7 separate regions of the Homo sapiens genome follow, and all the other regions are linked to region 1. Evidence: promoter capture Hi-C in 16 types of primary human blood cells and fetal thymus (Javierre and others, 2016). All regions are on one chromosome and are shown on one strand. The core of a region is centred on a gene start or on the middle of the fragment in contact, and the rest is flanking DNA. Distances in the headings are between cores, read along the strand shown.

Region 1 (2,700 bases), core at 38-2,537:
TCCTTCTACGTATTAACTTACCAATGGCAGCTTTGCCCCAGATTTGTACACTGAGATCTGTTTTTCCTTTCGTGGATTTATCTAATATTTGAAGGCTAGTTTTAAATCTGTGTTGTTGCTCATTTTTTTCATCTCCTTCCCAAGGATTCCATTCTTCACTTTCCAAAGTGGACTGTTCTGTTTTAAAAAGAGTAAGTGTTTACCAGTAAGGTATTATTGCAGTTGTAGGTAAATTCAAATCATTTAAATTAAGTGTTAGTTCTAATTTCATCCTAACTTTAATTTCTGAGAGGTACAGCAACTGAATTTAAACTGGTAATACACAATGAAAACAAAAAAGAAAATCAGCAATTTTTTTACTGAACTTTTTTTACTCTGAAAAGTCTTAGAAATAAAATGCTACCTTGAGACAGGAAAATTCTCTTCCCCAACACAAAACCTTTAAAAATAACAGGATAATATGTATCAAGTTACAAGCTTAACTTTTGCAATTATTTTTATCCATTGTATACAGGTAACCTATGCACAAAAAACTGACTTCAGAGTGTAGTGTTCACCAGTCTTAGATACTATCGTGCAAAATTCTGAATAAAGGGAAAGAGAAAGCCGAGTCTGATCTTAACACAAGTTAAAACACAGGACAGGGGACCAGAATTTGGAGGTAAAGTCTGCCTTATGGTCACTGCAGGATTAGAGAGGGCTTTGTTTCAACATGGAAACGGATGTCTTAAACCTTGCGGCGATTTTGAGGCCTTCCAGGAGCATTCCCGCAAATCTCTGGCATTTGAGACGACGTCTTGGATTTTAACACGTGTTTGAAAGGCGTGCGCGCCTGTCACCCCCTGGGATCGGGAGCGGGGACGGCGTGTGAGATCTGGGTAAGAATGAGGACCATTCTCCAATTCCGAGCCAAGGGCTGGCTCGAGAGGCTGTAGGGGGCAAAGCGCTTCTCAGGCCCTGCGGGTAATCCCGGACTTGAGAGCCGGGTGCGGGGACCCGGCCCCAGCCGCCCAGCAGCCCCAGCCAGGAGCGCAGAGCCGGAAGGAAGCCGCCGACCCAGTCCTACCTCGGCCGCGTCTCTCCCGCGCGGGGGCCGCCCCCTTCCTGAGGCCCCGCGGGGACCCGGCCGGCGCCTGGCGGCGGCGCCCGAAGAAGACGTGGTAGGCAGCGTAGAGGGAGAATAGGCAGTACAGGGCGATAAGAAACGAGCAGAGCCGCTTCCGCGTCAGCCGCATCCCACTCGGGCTTCCAGTCAGGCATCCACCGCCATGGAGCGGGCGGAAAGAGAATCCGCGACACCGGCGGCGTCCGAGGCAGGCCCAGCCCGTTTCCAGGCAGTCCCCAGCCAAGGCTCCTCCGCCCAGCGCCCGGTACAGCCCCGCCCCGGACACGCCCACCGCCCGCCTCCCGCCCAGGCCCCGCCCCCTCCAGTCGCGGCTCATCCACCCGGCCGAGGGCCTGCCCACCTTCGACACTGGAGGAGGGGGTACTGGAGCGGCCCCTACCCCACGCTGCTTCCAGACGCCGGGCTGAGTGGGAACCTCTCTGACCTCTGCCGTGTACTCATTGCACCTTTCAACCCTGGCCACTTTTCCCAAGTACATAAAGACTCGGGGGAAAAAGAACACCCGCGGTGGTCCATGAAGGCCATGTGAAGGCATGGACTGTGACGTTTTTTGCTCTGCATGGAATCCCTAGCGCCTAGGACAGTGCCTACTACGTTGATAGATGAGTGAATATAAACGTCCTTTAAAAAAATTAAGTGATGATGGTCGCTTAACATTGTGAATGTAATTAATACCACTCACTTGTATGCATAGAAATAGTTAAACTGTCGAATTCATGTTTTATATACCTTACTGCAATAAAAACATTTTTAAAGTTAAGTTTCATTATTATGTGAGTTGAACGCACATAGGCATGCAGTATTTTGTCAAATAGAGGCTGTAAATGTGAATGCTTCAGAAAACTTTGTATCCAGCCTTGGGAAGATGGGCTACAATGTTTTGTCAGTTGCTCTGGTACTACTGTTCAAATTACCCAGCAGTCTTGCGACGGTATGTCTGCTAATTAGGGTGACCAATGGTCCCAGTTTGCCCAGGACTGTAAGGATTCTCCAGTTGGAGGATTTTTAGTGCTAAAATTGAGAAAGTCCTAGGAAATCAGTAAAATTGGTCACTCTAGCACCGACCCTAAACTATTAGGTCAAACACTTTACCCAATCCCCCAAACAGTTCCCTGCCTCAAAAGACCTGTTTTAAACCATTTTTGCTCAGACTCCCCAAATCCTATAAATATCACCCCCAACCTTCTCCTTCTGAGACTGCCAAGCTTCTGTCAAAGTGTGGCCTCCCTTACTGTAGTAGATTTAATAAATTTAGCTTTCCTTGATTAACAGGCTATTCTGGTGTCTTAGGGAGATGGCAGTTGTTTTATGTATGCTGTATTGTTGTTTATCCTATTTTGTTTGTTTGTGGAAATGACAATTATTTAAGGATAGGAAGTAATTACCTTATAATTACCACAAAACACCCACTGTATCAATGTACATTCAGATGCTACTGACTAATGGTTTTACTATTGAGAAATGCATACAAGGTAAAACTAATATGCAGTTGATGTCATCTTGAATAGGGGAGAGGGCCATGAAAATGAAGGAGTTGTTTTACCTCAAACTGCAAATGACTGCATAATTTGATG
Region 2 (2,724 bases), core at 73-2,572, 700 kb after region 1:
TTTAGTGGACAGATACTGAGGAAAGAAATTCTGTCTGAATTATGAACTTTTGCATTTTCTTGTAGACCAAGTTCTTGTCCTAATGCCTGACACACCCGAGTGCTCAGTAAATGTTTATTTAGCATTTGGATTTGCCTGGGCAGGATGAATCCCTCCCTGTCCAGTTACTATTAACAACTTAATAGTCAATAGTTAATATTATCAACAGTAGTCAACAATGTATCATTATCACACTAAAAGTCTCAAAGTCCACCTGTCTCACAAAGACTTTCAGGCTGGGTCATAAATGTGTTTATCTTGTTCGGTGTAAAGCAATTCAACTTCCTCTTCCTATGTGCAAGTGTGCACATTTCTAAACAAGAGAATTTTAAAACTTAGATGTATTCAGTTACAACTTGTTTACCAAAATGTATATGAATGTAATTTGGAACAAGAAGAACATCCTCTTTCTACTGTCAAGATTATTTTTGTTTTAAACATGATATGTCGTGATTTCAAGCTAAGTAGATGTATCAGGGAGGCATACTTTTTTATAGAATTTAGTTTTATATACTAAAATCTAGTACTCCCATCTTAAAGTTTTATTGACTATTTTAAAATTACATTTATGAGACTGCTATATGAAAAATTTCAGTGGCATATTTTGGGTACTAAATTTATTTTACACACACAAAGCCTATCCTGGTGGCATATTTCTTCATCTAGTATATAACATCTAGGAGGATTTTTGCTGCTATTAAAGTTCAAGAAAGAATATAGGCCAGGCGTGGTGGCTCACACCTGTAGTCCCAGCACTTTGGGAGGCCGAGGCGGGCGGATCACCTGAGGTCAGGAGTTCAAGAACAGCCTGGCCAACATGATAAAACCTTGTCTCTACAAAAATACAAAAATTAGCTGGGCATGATGGTGGGTGCCTGTAATCCCAGCTACTCCGGAGGCTGAGGCAGGGTAATCTCTTGAACCTGGGAGGCGGAGGTTGTAGTGAGCTGAGATCGCACCACTGCACTCCAGCCTGGGCAACAGAGCAAAACTCCATCTCAAAAACAAACAAGAATATATAAGAGAAATAACATACCAATCAACATTTCTAGGTACACAACTATAAACGTCTTATAGAAACTAGCAAAATTATGAACTTATGAACTATTAGCCAATAGAGCACTTAGACAAAGTCCTACAAAATAACAGGAAAAGCAAAATAAATGTGACATGTCTAAAACAGTAAAGTAAAATAAAATAAAACCAAATGTGATCTGTATATTTTTTCCTAAAGATGGCATTAACTATTTAATCTCAACATTGTGAATTTACTTCCACTGAGAATAGGAAATTTGAGGGTAGGAACTTTCTCTAGTTCACCACTTTACTCAGAATCTACAATAATATCTGCATAGGCAAGATTCTGGATAATTGAATGAATCTATTTGAATGAACCTAGGCATAGAGAGATGAACAAATGATTTTTTGCCTTTATTTTACCTTGTTTTCTTCCACTCCACCCTCACTTATTGAGGACTGCATTAAAAAAATTAAGTACCCTATGTTTGCTCTAATTACAATTAGCATTTCTCCAACCAAACATCTAATGCTTATTCAGTCTCATCACTTGGATTCTTTCTTACAGGCACCTCAAATTGAATTCGTGGTCCTTCCTTGCTCCTATTCTCTCCCTCCGCTGCCTCATCATTGCTACTACCAATGTGCACAGCCATCATCACCACAATCCACCAGCTATTCAGCCATCTTTCCTTACATCTCCCCTTCCTTACTCCCTAGATCCAGTCACCACCAAGTTCCATGAATTTTATTTCCAAAATCTTTCTCAAATCCATCCACTTTTCTCTGTTTCCATTGTCACTAATCCAAGCCACTCTTTCTCTATCTGGACCTGGCAATAGGCTTTTTACTCATCTCCCTGCATTCCCACCTGCCCCACTCCAATTCATTCTTTGTACCTCAGCCAGGAAGATCTTTTTAGAACTCACACTAGATCAAGTTGGCCTCCTGTTTCAAGCCTTTCAAAACCTAACCCACCTTTCTCAGTGCCAGGACCCTGTTCAACCTCTTTTTATGTCACTGTACCTTCATCCATGACCACTATTGTGCTACATTCACAAAGACAGACAGATATTCAGGATTCAAACTAAGGACATTTAGATAGCCTTAAGGCTTGCGGCCTGGCCAGGAAGGAAGAGCTGAGATGATGCAGACAATAAAGAGATTCGTTTAATTCAATCAAGTGGTGAAGTCACCTGGGTTGAGACTTGCAGACTCAAATCAGACAGAAAAATTAGATAATGCTCAATGTGAATCCGGGACATGTGTATTGGAAGATCACACCATTTGAAAGTCACAGAATAAAAAATAAATGGCTCATATAGGTCAGTGACGAGGACAGAATCATACCTAAGACCAATCCAAAATTATGTGGCCAATGAGCACCCTCAGTGTGCTGGGATAGTTACCTCAATTTGCAAGAAAGACTAACCTTGTAATTCTTGGAATAACCAAAACATGTCCGTGATAGACCCAGGGCCACAACATGCAATTGTGGGGGAGCTGTGCAGCACCCAACTACAAGATGTGCCTCTTTCATACTAGTTAATATGAATGTTGTCTCCAGAGTTGTTTAGGAAACCACCTATGCAGCCATATATAGCCGACTTCATGAATAAGTACCTTTTTCTCCAGGAAGAATATTAACACTTTTGTGTTAAGATCAAG
Region 3 (2,731 bases), core at 19-2,518, 680 kb after region 1:
GAAATATTTTAGTTTCCTTCAACAGCTTCATAGTAAGTTCTGATACCTGCTACTTCAGAAGCATTCTGGCTACTTTTGACCCTTTACCCTTCCATATAAGTGGTGAAATAAGCATAGAAAGTTTTACGGTTTTGATTTCAATTGCATTGAATCTATAATTCAAGTTGGGAACAATTGGTGTCTTTATTATATTTTTTTTCCTTTCCATAAACATGATATGTCTCTCCATTAATTCAGGTTCTCTTTTTAAATCTCTTATCAAAATTGTATAATTTTTCCCGTGGAAATCATCTTGAAAAAAATGCCCCAAGCCATTTGAACAACTGGTTTTAGGAGATCTAGAGCTGAGATTTGAGACAGGAAGAAGCATGTGAAAGTAGAAATCCTCACTTCCAACTGGAATTAAGCCTAGATTAAACTAGGTTTGGTTCCACTGTACTTGACATGTGTGTTGAAGTCCCATTTGTACATAATGGGTAGTTGAGCCTAATAGGGAAACATGCTTGGCTTTAGATACCTCAAATAGAGCTAAAGCTCCACCACTGCCTCCTCCTTGCCTAAACTGAGACTAGTGTTCAGCTTTCCCTCCTGAGAAGTCAGTAGAAGTTGGAGTGGATACAGAGACTGGTGAGAGCCAGGAGAGAGAAGCCTGAGAAAGCAGAAGGGCCTGGGACCAGAATGCTTTTATCCCTCATGAATGATGTTGTTCTGTGGAAGAAATGGGCCATGCTGGGCTGGATGCGGTAGCTCATGCCTGTAATCCCAGCACTTTGGGAGGCCGAGGCAGGCAGATCACTCGAGGTCAGGAGTTCAAGGCCAGCCTGGCCAACATGGTGAAACCTCATCTCTATTAAAAATACAAAAATTACCCGGGCATGGTGGCGTGTGCCTGTAGTCCCAGCTGCTCATGAGGCTGAAGCAGGAGAATCACTTGAACCTGGGAGGCAGAGGTTTCAGTGAGCTGAGATCGTCCCACTGCACTCCAGCCTGGGTGACACAGCGAGAGTGTGTCTCAAAGAAAAGAAAAGAAAAAAGAAAAGAGGCAGTACTGAGCAATGAGGACTGTGGAAGGGAACCACAAGGAGGACCGTGGGAGGAGATATTTAGGAAACAAGGCAACAATCAGAAGAAAAGATCCGAAGCCAGCCCAATTTTACACTTCCATCTTTTCTCAGGAAACCGATCGCCAGGCCTCTCAGATGCCATCGGGGAGCTGAGGCTTTCTAGATCACTGCACCCAGACAATGAGATGCATCTGTTGCCTGTTGATCAATTCCCCTTCTTACCCCTCCCTAATTCCTATTTTCTTATACGTGGTTACAATAAGACGCTGGACCCTTCATTCAACCACCTGCTGCCTGTTGACCAACTCCTCTTCCTTGCCCCTTCTGTTTTCCTTCCCAGCTATGTAAACCCCTGACCTTAGTTGAGAGGGAGGGATGGATTTGAGACTTGGCTCCCATCTCCCTGGTTGACATCACCCATAAAATAATAAAGCCTTGTTCCCTGGCAACACACGTTGTTTCTTTTTGTGGGGCAAACAATGGGACCTAGACCAAACCCCTGGCGTTCAGTAACAGATCTTTGAGTAGGTATTCAGAAAATGGTGGACAACTGTTCCACAAATATCCATTGTCACCAACCCACTTAATGGCAAATGACCAATCAGAGGGAATAACCAACCAGCAGGTGGCCACCAAGACCAGAGAACATAAGGCAAACTCCCCTGGTTTCTGCCACTGCAACTGTTACCCACCAAACAGCAGGCAAAATAGGCTTTATACAAGACACAAAGGAGGAGACTTGCCAGTGGGTATAAATTCAACAGTGATCATCACCCAGCTATTTAGTTAGCCCAACAAGATGCAAGAGCCAGAGCATCTGAGATCAATTCAGAAAGTGTGCGTCATGAAGACCCATACTATGCTGGTCCTCATGATTTGGCTTGTTTCTGGGATAGAATTTGAAACACAAGGAGAAATCAGTGGCTCCTGTCCTCAAGGCACTCCTTTGAGAGTTGGTCACCAGGAATTTGGATTTATGCTTCCTGGCAAAAATAATTCAATAAGATTTAGCAAAGCGAGGCATGGTGGTGCATGCCTGTAGTACCAGCTGCTTGGGAGGCTGAAGTGGGAGGATCACTTGAACCCAGGAGTTCGAGGCTGCAGTGTGCTATGCTCATCCTTGTGAATCGTGGCTGCGCTCCAGCCTGGGCAACACAGTGAGACCCTCTTCTAAAAAAAAAAAAAAAGATTCATTGAGCAGCTGAGGAGAAGATAGCACAAGCATGTTATCTTGCAAAAATCAAGATGCCAAGCCAGGGCTCATGTTCTTTATGGAGATCTACCTTACCTTTGCACAGAAATAGGCTGAGGGAGTCCCCTGGTCTGGGTCCAGCTTTCCTCAGAAAACGGTTCTGGTACTGGTCCCACTCACAATTACACAATGAAAGCTCAAGATATTCCTTTAGCCTGAAATTTCCAAAAGTACCAGTTAACAATTTCCCACCACAACCATTAAAACTTCATAAATGCTTGAAATGTCAAATTTTAAACAATGAAACTTTCTGATGAGCTTTTTAACATAATTTAACTGAAAAAAAATGTACTCCCAGGTGACTGAATATACTGACCAATTACATAAGCCAATTAAAGGCTGCTAACAAAAAATGATTATTTTTGCTTTAGAGTGCTGTATTAGGTCATTCTCTTTGTCAGAAATTAGATGCAAA
Region 4 (2,700 bases), core at 112-2,611, 630 kb after region 1:
AATCGGAAAACCCTACCATCACCATCACTGCATTACTGGGTTCCTTGAATAGCTGCTGTAATCCCTGGATATACATGTTTTTTAGTGGCCATCTCCTTCAAGACTGTGTTCAAAGCTTCCCATGCTGCCAAAACATGAAGGAAAAATTCAACAAAGAAGATACTGACAGTATGAGCAGAAGACAGACTTTTTATTCTAACAATCGAAGCCCAACAAACAGTACGGGTATGTGGAAGGACTCGCCTAAATCTTCCAAGTCCATCAAATTCATTCCTGTTTCAACTTGAGCCTTGCATTCATGCAACTTGATTCTTGTGATTGACTTTTTGGCTCATTAGCTGAATTGAGCTAGAAATCACAAGAACAAATACACTTTATTAATATAACCATAAATCAATTCATTGTGTATGAGACTGTGTTTCTAGTTGCATTTTCATATTGCTACCAAAAACTAGACATTATTTTGTATGGAATATTAATGGAAACATGCTGTACTAAAATATGCAGGTCTGATTCCCAGAAATACAACAGAAGTTATATTTTTAAAGGAAAAATCATAACCACCCTAGCTTTATATTTTGTTGTTAGTTTCTTTTATTTTCATTTCTAACATAAGTAAGACTTGATTGGTTTAAAAGTCACATAAAATGCGGCACTATTTCTGAACAAAGAGAGCTCATCATCAGTCTTAATATTCAGAGAAAACTTCAGAGAAATTATGTTTTCATCCATTAAAATTAATTTGTGCATCAGAAAATGCAGCCTTAAACAGTGTCCAGGAGATGGGATGGTACCTCCTAGGAGTACAAGTGCCTGGGGTGTAATGAGCTCCTGCTCATTGTGGCCAGTTTAGAGTTCTATTAGAAGCTATCAATCACCTTGCATTTCAAAATGGTAACTTTACAACTGGCAGTGGCCTCCTTTTGGTTCCTCACATATTATTGGTCAAGAAAAGCATGAAAACTGAGATGCTGAAGGTGAGAGGAAATGTTGACTGGCCAAAAATATCTTTTTTCCCCCACTGCGAGGTTGTTTTAAAGTCAGATTTGTATAAGGAAAGCCAAATTTTATTAAAAGAGTAGAAAAGGATTGCTTAAGGTACTCTGGACTTTCTCTTGGACATTGTAAACGTATTTTGATCAGTGTTACAAGGGTATCCTGTGCTATGCTGGACATTAACAAGATCATTATCTTCATGTTTGGGGAATTCAGATTCATAATATGAGTATCCTAAAGAGTGACTCAGGATATAAAGTGTCCCAACATGTTTAATTAAAAATAGCTTTGTCTTTCCAATCTCTCACTCATCTAACAATTGCAAAGCAGAGATGAGACAGGGTTGGGACATGGGTGACAGATGGAAAGAGAACTGCTCTGTGCCCAGACTGGCTTCCTTCATTATTAAATCCACAACTTTAGGCAAGTTTCTTAAACACATATAAAGCCTCTGTTTCCTTGACTTACCGTGGGGTTGATAACACTTACCTCACAGGGTTGTTGTAAGGACTAAATGAAATCAAATATGTTAAAAGAGCTTCAGAAATAGTAAAGTACTATACACATGCTAGCAGTTGCTTTTATTATAGCCTTGGGATCTCCAAAATTGCACAGATGTTTTCCAGTTTATTTTTCATTAACTAGAATTGGTTCATTTCATGGCTGGGATATAAAATCCTAAAATTTAAATATAGATCGCTGATTCATTGGACAACATTTCCAGTGACTGCTCAGCTTGACTTCTCCTGCCTGACTAAAGTTTTCCAATTTAAAGACAGAACTTGCTTTTCTTTGAATGCAGGTAGATCAAAGCCACCCACAAGCATCAATTTTTTCCATTTTTAAACGGAGACCAATTACACTACTTTGCTGTTATTACATTTTTCATTAATGGAACTCAGTGATTTTTTTCCTAGCTATTTTGTCTGGCTGCTTCTTCTTCTTAGAGATCATGCAATGATTTGAGGATACATCATAAATATTTTGCATCCTTAAGAGGAAGTAATAGTTGCTTTTTTTTTTTTTGAAACAGAGTCTTGCTCTTTTGCCAGGCTGGAGTGCAGTGGCGTGATCTCGGCTCACTGCAACCTCCGCTTCCTGGGTTCAAGCGATTCTCCTGCCTCAGCCTCCCGAGTAGCTGGGACTATATGCATGTGCCACCACACCCAGCTAATTTTTATATTTTTAGTAGAGATGGGGTTTCACCATGTTGGCCAGCATGGTTTTAATAGTATTATTGAGTTTCTTTTTTTACCTTTGTAGATAAGAAAATGAGAACTGGATAGCACTGTGAGAACCCGGAAGCGATAACTTCACTCCTCTTCATTCTTCTGCCTTTTGAAATTCTCAGCCCTTAGGCTCCTTGTATTGATAGGCCTAAAAACATGTTTCCAAATGCTTTATAGAGATTATAAACCTAGGGACTCCCTAGGTTTTCAAATTCTTCTTTCTAAAAATAACAAATATGTCTCTTAAAGGGTACTGTCCAATATAAGCCATAACTAAATTAATTAATTCATTATTTGAGTTAGAGTAGCATCTCAGTAACCCAGCACTCGAAGACTGTCAGTCCTTTTAACAACTCTTTGATAGTTCAAAAACTAAAGCTTTTTGGTTTGGAACTAAGATGAACCCATTTTTTTCTAAATCCATTTCCAAAGTAAGAACCTCAGAACCTATAGATCTTGCTTCAAAATGTTGATA
Region 5 (2,700 bases), core at 125-2,624, 980 kb before region 1:
AGGTCATGATGAAAAGTACTATTGTTCCTATAATGAAAATTCCACAGGAATTTTTCAACTAATAGCTGAATTGGATGCATTTTTGCTTAAGCTCTTGGAAAAACATGTCAAAATGAAAACACAACTTATTTTACTAAAACAATTTATGGAAAAAATTGAAATAATGAAAAAAATGTTTAAAAAGTGGTAAGTCAAACACATAACCAAACACCAAATACTATTATGTATTCTATTCTGGATATGACAACCACTGATGAGTTGGCAATTATTGGGCACTACTTTCTAACAGGAAAACCTATGAGCAATTTTTAAATATTTTTAGCCAACTGAAAACATCTGAGACATTATTCAACAAAGTAAAACAAGATTGTTATTTTAACCTGTGGTTAAACAGCATTTATAATCAGTCATCTGTTAACACAGCTATTATAATGATTAGGAAAAAGGGCTGCATGCTCTTTAAAAAACAGCTTGGCTAGGCTGGGCATGGTGGCTCACGCCTGTAATCCCAGCACCTTGGGAGGCCAAGGTGGGTGGATCACCTGAGGTCAGGAGTTCAAGACCAGCCTGAGGTCAGGAGTTCGAGACCAGACCAATATGGTGAAACACTGTCTCTACTAAAAATACAAAAATTAGCTGGATGTGGTGGTGTACACCTGTAATCCCAGCTACTTGGGAGGCTGAGGCAGGAGAATCGCTTGAACCTGAGAGGTGGAGGTTGTAGTGAGCCGAGATCATGCCACTGCACTCTAGCCTGGTGACAGAGCAAGACTCTGTCTCAAAAAAAAAAAAAAAAATTAATAGGATACAAAACCAAAGTGATAAAGATGAATGAGAAAGTAAAGAGAAATTATCCTGACATTAAGAAGTAAAGAGTAACCAAAAAAAGTTTAAATCATAAGAAAAACAGTAATTCATTAAGAGGAAGAGAATAATCATTTCACACTCTATACGTATATGAAAACATCATGTTGTACACCTTAAATACACATAATTTTGTTGTCAATTATATCTCAATAAAGCTGGAAAGAGGAAGAGATAAACTGCAAATGAAAGTAATAAATAGGCTATTAAATTGACAACTTGTGAATTATATAAACTCATTGAAAAATATTCAAATTTCTTTCGATTTGATCTCACACTAGCATTGAGGAAGATAACATAAAACTCACGCCTATAATCCCAGCACTTTGGGAGGCTGAGGCGGGTAGATCACCTGAAGTCAGGAGTTCGAGACCAGCCTGGCCAACATGGCGAAACCCCATCTCTACTAAAAATACAAAAATTAGCCGGGCATAGTGACGCATGCCTGTAATCCCAGCTACTCAGGAGGCTGAGGCAGGAGAATTGCTTGAACCTGGGACGTGGAGGTTGCAGTGAGCCAAGAGCGCAGACAGATCAAGACTCCATCTCAAAAAATAAAATAATACAAAATAAAATGCAGAATGTCACGAAATGCCTATGTTAAGAGGATATTTGATAGAGTTTTCTGAAATTTGACAAAAATACTAAACATATATATAAAACCAATAATGAACTGAGGTGAAAAATAATTTTTCTGAATTATCACCAATAAAAGGCAAATACTGATCAAACACACTAGAGAAAAAACTAAATTATCTTTCTATTTTCTTTAGAAAATATTATAAACTAACATCATATGAAGAGATGATTAAAGAGCACATAGCCATATAATGTAAGGGGAAAAAAGTATGAAGAAGTATGCCTGGCAGTTACTTAATAAAAATATGTTACGTTAAATTTTTGCATTATTTGTAATATTTTTCAACTTTTAAAAATTTATAACGTTATATTTTGTTTTAGTCTAAATACATATTCAGTTGTGTACCTACTTTTGTATCTAAAATTGTTATTCTTTTTCTTAAGGAGCCTCCACTCGCCAAATGCACATAAACTTCAGGCCCCACAAAATTTGAATCTGTCCCTGTTATCCACTTTTCTCTCTACCTAATTGGTCTACCCTCACCCATGCTTGTCCTCTTCCAATCTGTTCTTCATGCCACAGTCTAAAGGATCTTCTAAAAGTTCATGTATGATTATATTTATCTTACATTCTTTCAGTAATTTCCAATTAGCCTTACTATAAAAACCCAAGTCCTTAAAATAGGATCTGGGTCCTCACCACCTCTCTCCCTCTGCTCTAACCACACTGGCTTCTTTTAGTTATTGCAATGCACCAGCTCAGAACCTTTGCATATGCTGTACTCTGTGCTTAGGAGACATTCCACCACCCCAATACTCCATTAACAAATTATCTCCTACTCAAACTTCAGATTTCACTCAAAGATCACTTCCTCAGGGCACCTTAGACTAAATCAGCCTCCCACCACCTTAAATGCTCATTGCACCCTTTACTTTTCCTTCATAGCATGTCTATTTGTAATCATATACAAGATACAAGATTAGATTGTCCATCTCTCTGCCATTAGACTGCAAATTCCATGAACGAGGGACAATGTCTCTTCAGCACTAGTGTAGCAGTGTTACCGGAAAGGGGTCCTGATCCAGACATCAAGAAAGGGTTCTTGGATCTCGAGCAAGGAAGAATTCAGGACAAGACCATAGAGTAAAGTGAAAGAAAGTTTATTAAGAAAGTAGAGGAATAAAAGAATGGCTACTCCATAGGCAGAGCAGCCCGAGGGCTACTCGTTGCCCATTTTTATGGTTATTTCTTGATGA
Region 6 (2,700 bases), core at 133-2,632, 520 kb before region 1:
ATGCATGATCCAATCACCTCCCACCAGGACCCTCCCTCGACAGTGGGGATTACAATTCAAGATGAGATTTGGGTGGGAACACAGAACCAGAACATATCAGGCTACCATCTGGATAAGGTGGGCACTGGGAAAATGAATCCAGATGTAGATGCTCATGGAAAAGGCACAGTGCCCAAAGGTGAGAGTGATCTCTACATAAGAGTGAGCAAAATGAAATATCAGGATATTTTAGCATGTGGGTGAATTACAACTGGATGTCTGCACAAACATTTGGCACCAGGAAGATCTGCTTGTTTAGGGTGTGGGAACAGGGTTTTATGGAATGTGAGGACATAAAGATTGTCAAGAGTAAAGCCAGCAGTTAGGAGAGGACTGGGAAAGGACTTAGGACAGTGCTCAAAGGGGAAGTCCACCCAGATACACTGGACACAATCAGGGACTGGATTTAAAGTGCATGTCTAGGTAGGAGAACTGAAGTACCACTTAAGGGTTAGATTAAGAAGGATGTTGATGTGTATTCCTAATGGGATCAGCACCAGTGTTAGTCTGGAGGTCATTTAAGCATCTTCAGTTTAAAAACAGGCCTGATACCTGTGGCCTAGGCTGTGGAACAAAAAAAGAATGGAGAGAAAGAGAGTAAGGTTAGGATTCACAGACCTGACCCGCCACTTCATCTTCTCTCTCACCTCTGTCCTCTACAAGATCGAGCCATGTAGGATAACTTGGATACTTGTTCTCCTTAGCTCTCCTTTCTCCCTGCTGCTTGCTTTCTCTAGAATACTCTTCTTCTAATTTCTCTTGTTAAAAATCATACCCATTCATCAAGGCTCAGCTCAAATGCCATTTTCTGCCTTTCCTGTCATGCCTAATGGGGAACTTTAGTACCTTCCTCCTTTTGATCTTCTCTGTCAATTCCATGCCATAGAACTTTCTTTGAAGTTTTATAATCTGCATTGTTCAATACAGCAGACACTAGCCACATGTGGCTATTAAGCACTTGAATGTGACTAGTGACTAAAAAAGTAAAACGTTAATTTTATTAAATTTACATTAATTTAAATAGACACTTGTGGGCAGTAGCTACCGAGTTGAACAATGTAGTTCTATGACATCTTTCATAGCACTTCCTCTTTAACAATTAACAGACAGTTTTCATGCCTAATCTGTGTGAGGCTTGGTGATAGGTATTAGAAATATAGCATGATTATGATACAGTTTCTACCATCGAGAATTAGCACAGATATCCTCCCTTTTACTATAGTGATTGGCACATTTTTCTTATTTATCTTAATATGCTAAAAGCTTCTTTAGGACAAGTATATGTCTTACTTATCTTTGTATTCTCCCTCAGGCCAAAACACAATGCATGCATATTCCAGGTGCTGTAAGTTATTCATACTGAATTGCAAATCTGTTCTCTTGTGAAATATTAACCTAATCCAATGTCTAAAAATGAAGCTTTCATGATCTGTTTTATACTTGAAAACACTGCAGCCATTATTTAATATAATATTCTTACCTGGGCTAAAACAAATCTTCTAATTCAGTTATCAAAAATGAAAGGCCAAAGTGAATGGAGAAGGAAATAATTCAGATAGGAAAAGGGGAAGTCAAATTGTCTCTGTTCACAGATGACATGATTGTATATTTAGAAAACCTCACCGTCTCAGCCCAAATCTCCTTAAGCTTATCAAAGCAACTTCAGCAAAGTCTCAGGATACGAAATCAATGCACAAAAATCACAAGCATTCCTATACACCAATAACAGACAAACAGAGAGCCAAATCATGAGTGAACTCCCATTCACAATTGCTACTAAGAGAATAAAATACCTAGGAATACAACTTACAAGGAATGTGAAGGACCTCTTCAAGGAGAACTACAAACCACTGCTCAAGGAAATAAGGGAGGACACAAACAAATGGAAAAACATTTCATGCTCATGGATAGGAAGAATCAATATCGTGAAAATGGCCATAACTGCCCAAAGTAATTTATAGATTCAATGCTATCCCCATCAAGCTACCTATTGACTTTCTCCACAGAATTGGAAAGAACTGCTTTAAAGTTCATATGGAACCAAAAAAGAGCCCGCATAGCCAAGACAATCCTAAGCATAAAGAACAAAGCTGGAGGCATCACACTACCTGACTTCAAACTATACTACAAGGCTACAGTAACCAAAAGAGCATGGTACTGGTACCAAAACAGACATATAGACCAATGGAACAGAACAGAGCCCTCAGAAATAACACCACACATCTACAACCATCTGATCTTTGACAAACCTGACACAAACAAGCAATGGGGAAAGGATTCCCTATTTAATAAATGGTGCTGGGAAAACTGGCTAGCCATATGCAGAAAACTGAAACTGGACCCCTTCCTTACACCTTATACAAAAATTAACTCAAGGTGGATTAAAGACTTAAACATAAGACCTAAAACCATAAAAGTCCTAGAAGAAAACCTAGGCAATACCATTCAGGACACAGGCATGGGCAAAGACTTCATATCTAAAACATCAAAAGCAATGGCAACAAAAGCCAAAATTGACAAATGGGATCTAATTAAACTAAAGAGCTTCTGCACAGCAAAAGAAACTATCATCAGAGTGAACAGACAACCTACAGAACGAGAGAAAATTTTTGCAATCTATCCATCTGACAAAGGGCTAATATCCAGAATCTACAAAGGACG
Region 7 (2,700 bases), core at 75-2,574, 660 kb after region 1:
TGTCCTGCTGGACTTCACTTACAAAACATGAACTTAAAGGTAAAATTAAGAATTTTAGGATGGCAACTGCAGACCATTAAACTTCAAGAGGGATGGGAAGAATTCTGAACTTGAGGCCCTGTGTCCCTAGGTTCCCACAGTTCCCATACCAATGAAGCCAGCCCTTTCTCATGTCAGGGAACTTCACAGGCGGAAGCCTTTTGGGACCCTTCACAGTACTCCGAGATGCCTGCCATGATAGAGTCAACATTTGGACAGGCGTTTCAGAAATGTGATCAATAGCAAATCAGTAGTAACCAGGAAAACTGTCTGCCATTCGGGGAGAAGACTGCAACCCTGTCCAGAGGAGTAAGAGATATTTCCTCTTTTTGCTCTTCTCCCTGACCCAAGAACTGGAAGAGCTAGCCCTCAAAAAGGGAGGAGGGATAAGTTTGTAATGAGACAACCCCCTCACCACCAATTAAAGCCAGTGGCAGGTTTGGTCTTTATTAGTGGAAAGGAAGGAGAGCTCTGAGTTAAGTTGAGATTGAAATTTTAAACTGCATAGGGTTAAAATTACTTTTTTAAACATCACTGCAACTTACAAAATCTGGCCAACTTGTAATTAAAGGAACTGCTCCCCACTGGAAAGTGGGTTCAACATGGCCCAGTTAGAAAGCAGTTATTGGGGAACAAAAGGCATTTTGTGGTTGTGCCCTAAGGAGTGAGATGTTTCAATAAATTGGCAACATGAACTTGGTCACAGTGGCCCAGCTGGACTCACACAATATGCACACTCCCGCACAGGTGAGGCATGTGCAACCTCAGGGCCTTCTAGACCCAATGAGTGAAGAAGAGGAGAGAAGGTGATCTTTGTTGCTGTCAACACCTGCGTGGCCCATAGCAGAAGGGTCAAAGAGCACACAGCAGCAAAAGGACTAGGACGTTGAAAGTACCTAGGTAATTGAGAACAAGGGCAACTATCATCAACCTAAGTTACATACTCCAGATGGTGTTTGAGGTCAAAGTCAGAAGCTTAGAGTAAATCTGTAAGTCAACTACTGAGCATCTACCAATGGGGAGGCCAAGAAAAATAAAACATACTCCATTCCCTCCAAGTTAAGACCCTATATATAGATGCATAATGTATCACCCAGCTCCTATTACCAGCTAAAAGTACAATTAAAAATAGGGAAAGAAAGAAATTAGCAAAGACTGCAATAATCAGTGGAGGATCCATAGAAAAGAGAGGACTTCAACACACAGGCTTTGTTTCGACAGAAGAAAAAAGCAGGGTGGTCCAGGCAATCAGGACAGCATAGGCAAGAACTCATTAGTATTGAGTGTGAAATGCAGCCTCAATGACACAGAAGATAAAAGCAGGAAAACAGACAGGTGCAGTATAAGCCTGGATAGATGGGGGAGTGCTTACAAAGCCTGTAAAGGAGAGAAACACCCTACGCACTGTCCAAATGCTTTTTATAAACTATCTCATTTAATTCTTATAAAAATTCTAGAAGTAGTTTTGAAGTCACCAAGACAACTCTCAGATTTAATCACACATTTCCCACTTTCTTAGCTTAAACTATTTGGTGTAGCCCAAGGGCTTAGATAAACAAAAACATTCTTAACAGGCAGTATATTCTAGAAGCTTAGAGGTTATCTCCCAGGAGTAGAGTAAGGACTAAACCTTTCTTTGGAATGTGCAGGATTTAGACTGTGCAGACCTGCTGGATTAACCCTTTACCACACAAGTAGACACTATTTTATAGTTGAGGAAACTGAGACTGCAAGGTCAGGTTACTTTTCAACATCTTATAGATGGTATACCCAAGGTTTGAATCTGCATTTGTTTGAATCCAAAATCTGTACTTTCCACAATAACACATGACCACCTCTAGAGAGGGTCCTGAAAGCTAAACTGGTGATTAAACAGGTCTGAAAAAATTAGGTCAAATATCTAAAGCAAGGAAATGGCATATGGAAATTAGTGTTCTAGAATCTCAGAATTACCTTTCAATATTAAGGGGGAAAAATGATTTGTATAAGGGAAGAGACAGATACCAGCCCAGAGATATTTGCAGTAATCCAAGTATAATATAATAAGCTAATAGAATACGAATATAGAGGAAGATATCTGAGATATTTACAAAAAAAATTACCGGACTTTGTCAAAGACTAGATATTGGGAAGAAAAAGAAGGGAGAGTAGAAGATTATACCAGAATGTCTCATGATATTTACTACCTTTTTTTTTTTTTTTTTGAGATGGAGTCTTGCCTTGTCACCCAGGCTGGAGCGCAGTGACGTGATCTTGGCTCACTGCAACCTCCGCCTCCCAGGTTCAAGCAACTCTCCTGCCTCAGCCTCCCAAGTAGCGGGGACTACAGGTGCGCACCACCACACCCGGCTAATTTTTGTATTTTTAGTAGAGATTGGGCTTCACCATGCTGGCCAGGTTGGTCTTGAACTCCACAATTCCTGATCTGCCCACCTCGACCTCCCAAAGTGTTGGGATTACAGGCATGAGCCACTGTGCCTAGTGATATTTACTACTCTTAATTGTTTGTTTTACATCTGAGAGCTTCTTTAATCTTCATGATGATGTTGTAAGGTTGGAATTATTGTTCCATCTTCAAAGGTAAGGAAACTGAGACTTGAAGTTAAGCAACTTGCAAGGGTCTTAAAGCTAGCAATCCAACCCAGTTCTGCTCATCAGAAA

The links. The method cuts DNA at HindIII sites, captures the fragments that hold promoters and counts their contacts. A CHiCAGO score of 5 or more calls a contact.
Region 2: a contact is called between a fragment that was not itself captured here and the fragment with the promoter of RXYLT1 in region 1, in 1 of 17 cell types (M0 macrophages). The highest score is 5.7, in M0 macrophages.
Region 3: a fragment that was not itself captured here is called in contact with the fragment with the promoter of RXYLT1 in region 1 in 6 of 17 cell types (megakaryocytes, M2 macrophages, M0 macrophages and 3 more); the score reaches 10.1 in megakaryocytes.
Region 4: a fragment that was not itself captured here is called in contact with the fragment with the promoter of RXYLT1 in region 1 in 2 of 17 cell types (megakaryocytes and fetal thymus); the score reaches 7.4 in megakaryocytes.
Region 5: a fragment that was not itself captured here is called in contact with the fragment with the promoter of RXYLT1 in region 1 in 1 of 17 cell types (non-activated CD4 T cells); the score reaches 5.8 in non-activated CD4 T cells.
Region 6: a fragment that was not itself captured here is called in contact with the fragment with the promoter of RXYLT1 in region 1 in 1 of 17 cell types (M1 macrophages); the score reaches 6.1 in M1 macrophages.
Region 7: a fragment that was not itself captured here is called in contact with the fragment with the promoter of RXYLT1 in region 1 in 1 of 17 cell types (megakaryocytes); the score reaches 6.1 in megakaryocytes.

What each region holds. Positions count from the first base shown.
Region 1 is chr12:63,778,496-63,781,195 of GRCh38, reverse strand. RXYLT1 (ribitol xylosyltransferase 1) reads right to left here and starts at 1,287. Exons shown (of 6, transcript NM_014254.3): 1 at 1,067-1,287; 2 at 22-177. The coding sequence starts at 1,235. RefSeq lists silencers at 919-1,218, 947-1,222, 1,239-1,468. The HindIII fragment of the contact is 1,854 bases long and covers 480-2,333 here.
Region 2 is chr12:63,080,745-63,083,468 of GRCh38, reverse strand. No RefSeq gene overlaps it. Among named protein-coding and RNA genes, the nearest start is that of AVPR1A, 69 kb to the left of the region's middle. The HindIII fragment of the contact is 3,980 bases long and covers 1-2,724 here.
Region 3 is chr12:63,098,017-63,100,747 of GRCh38, reverse strand. No RefSeq gene overlaps it. Among named protein-coding and RNA genes, the nearest start is that of AVPR1A, 52 kb to the left of the region's middle. The HindIII fragment of the contact is 3,259 bases long and covers 1-2,731 here.
Region 4 is chr12:63,144,946-63,147,645 of GRCh38, reverse strand. It overlaps AVPR1A (arginine vasopressin receptor 1A), which reads left to right. Exons shown (of 2, transcript NM_000706.5): 2 at 1-2,700. The coding sequence ends at 287. Among named protein-coding and RNA genes, the nearest start is that of AVPR1A, 4.9 kb to the left of the region's middle. The HindIII fragment of the contact is 2,488 bases long and covers 118-2,605 here.
Region 5 is chr12:64,761,708-64,764,407 of GRCh38, reverse strand. It overlaps a transcript of TBC1D30 not described here. Among named protein-coding and RNA genes, the nearest start is that of GNS, 3.7 kb to the right of the region's middle. The HindIII fragment of the contact is 4,032 bases long and covers 1-2,700 here.
Region 6 is chr12:64,298,255-64,300,954 of GRCh38, reverse strand. The region is part of intron 6 of C12orf56 (chromosome 12 open reading frame 56); the gene reads left to right. Among named protein-coding and RNA genes, the nearest start is that of KICS2, 77 kb to the right of the region's middle. The HindIII fragment of the contact is 156 bases long and covers 1,305-1,460 here.
Region 7 is chr12:63,120,628-63,123,327 of GRCh38, reverse strand. No RefSeq gene overlaps it. Among named protein-coding and RNA genes, the nearest start is that of AVPR1A, 29 kb to the left of the region's middle. The HindIII fragment of the contact is 616 bases long and covers 1,017-1,632 here.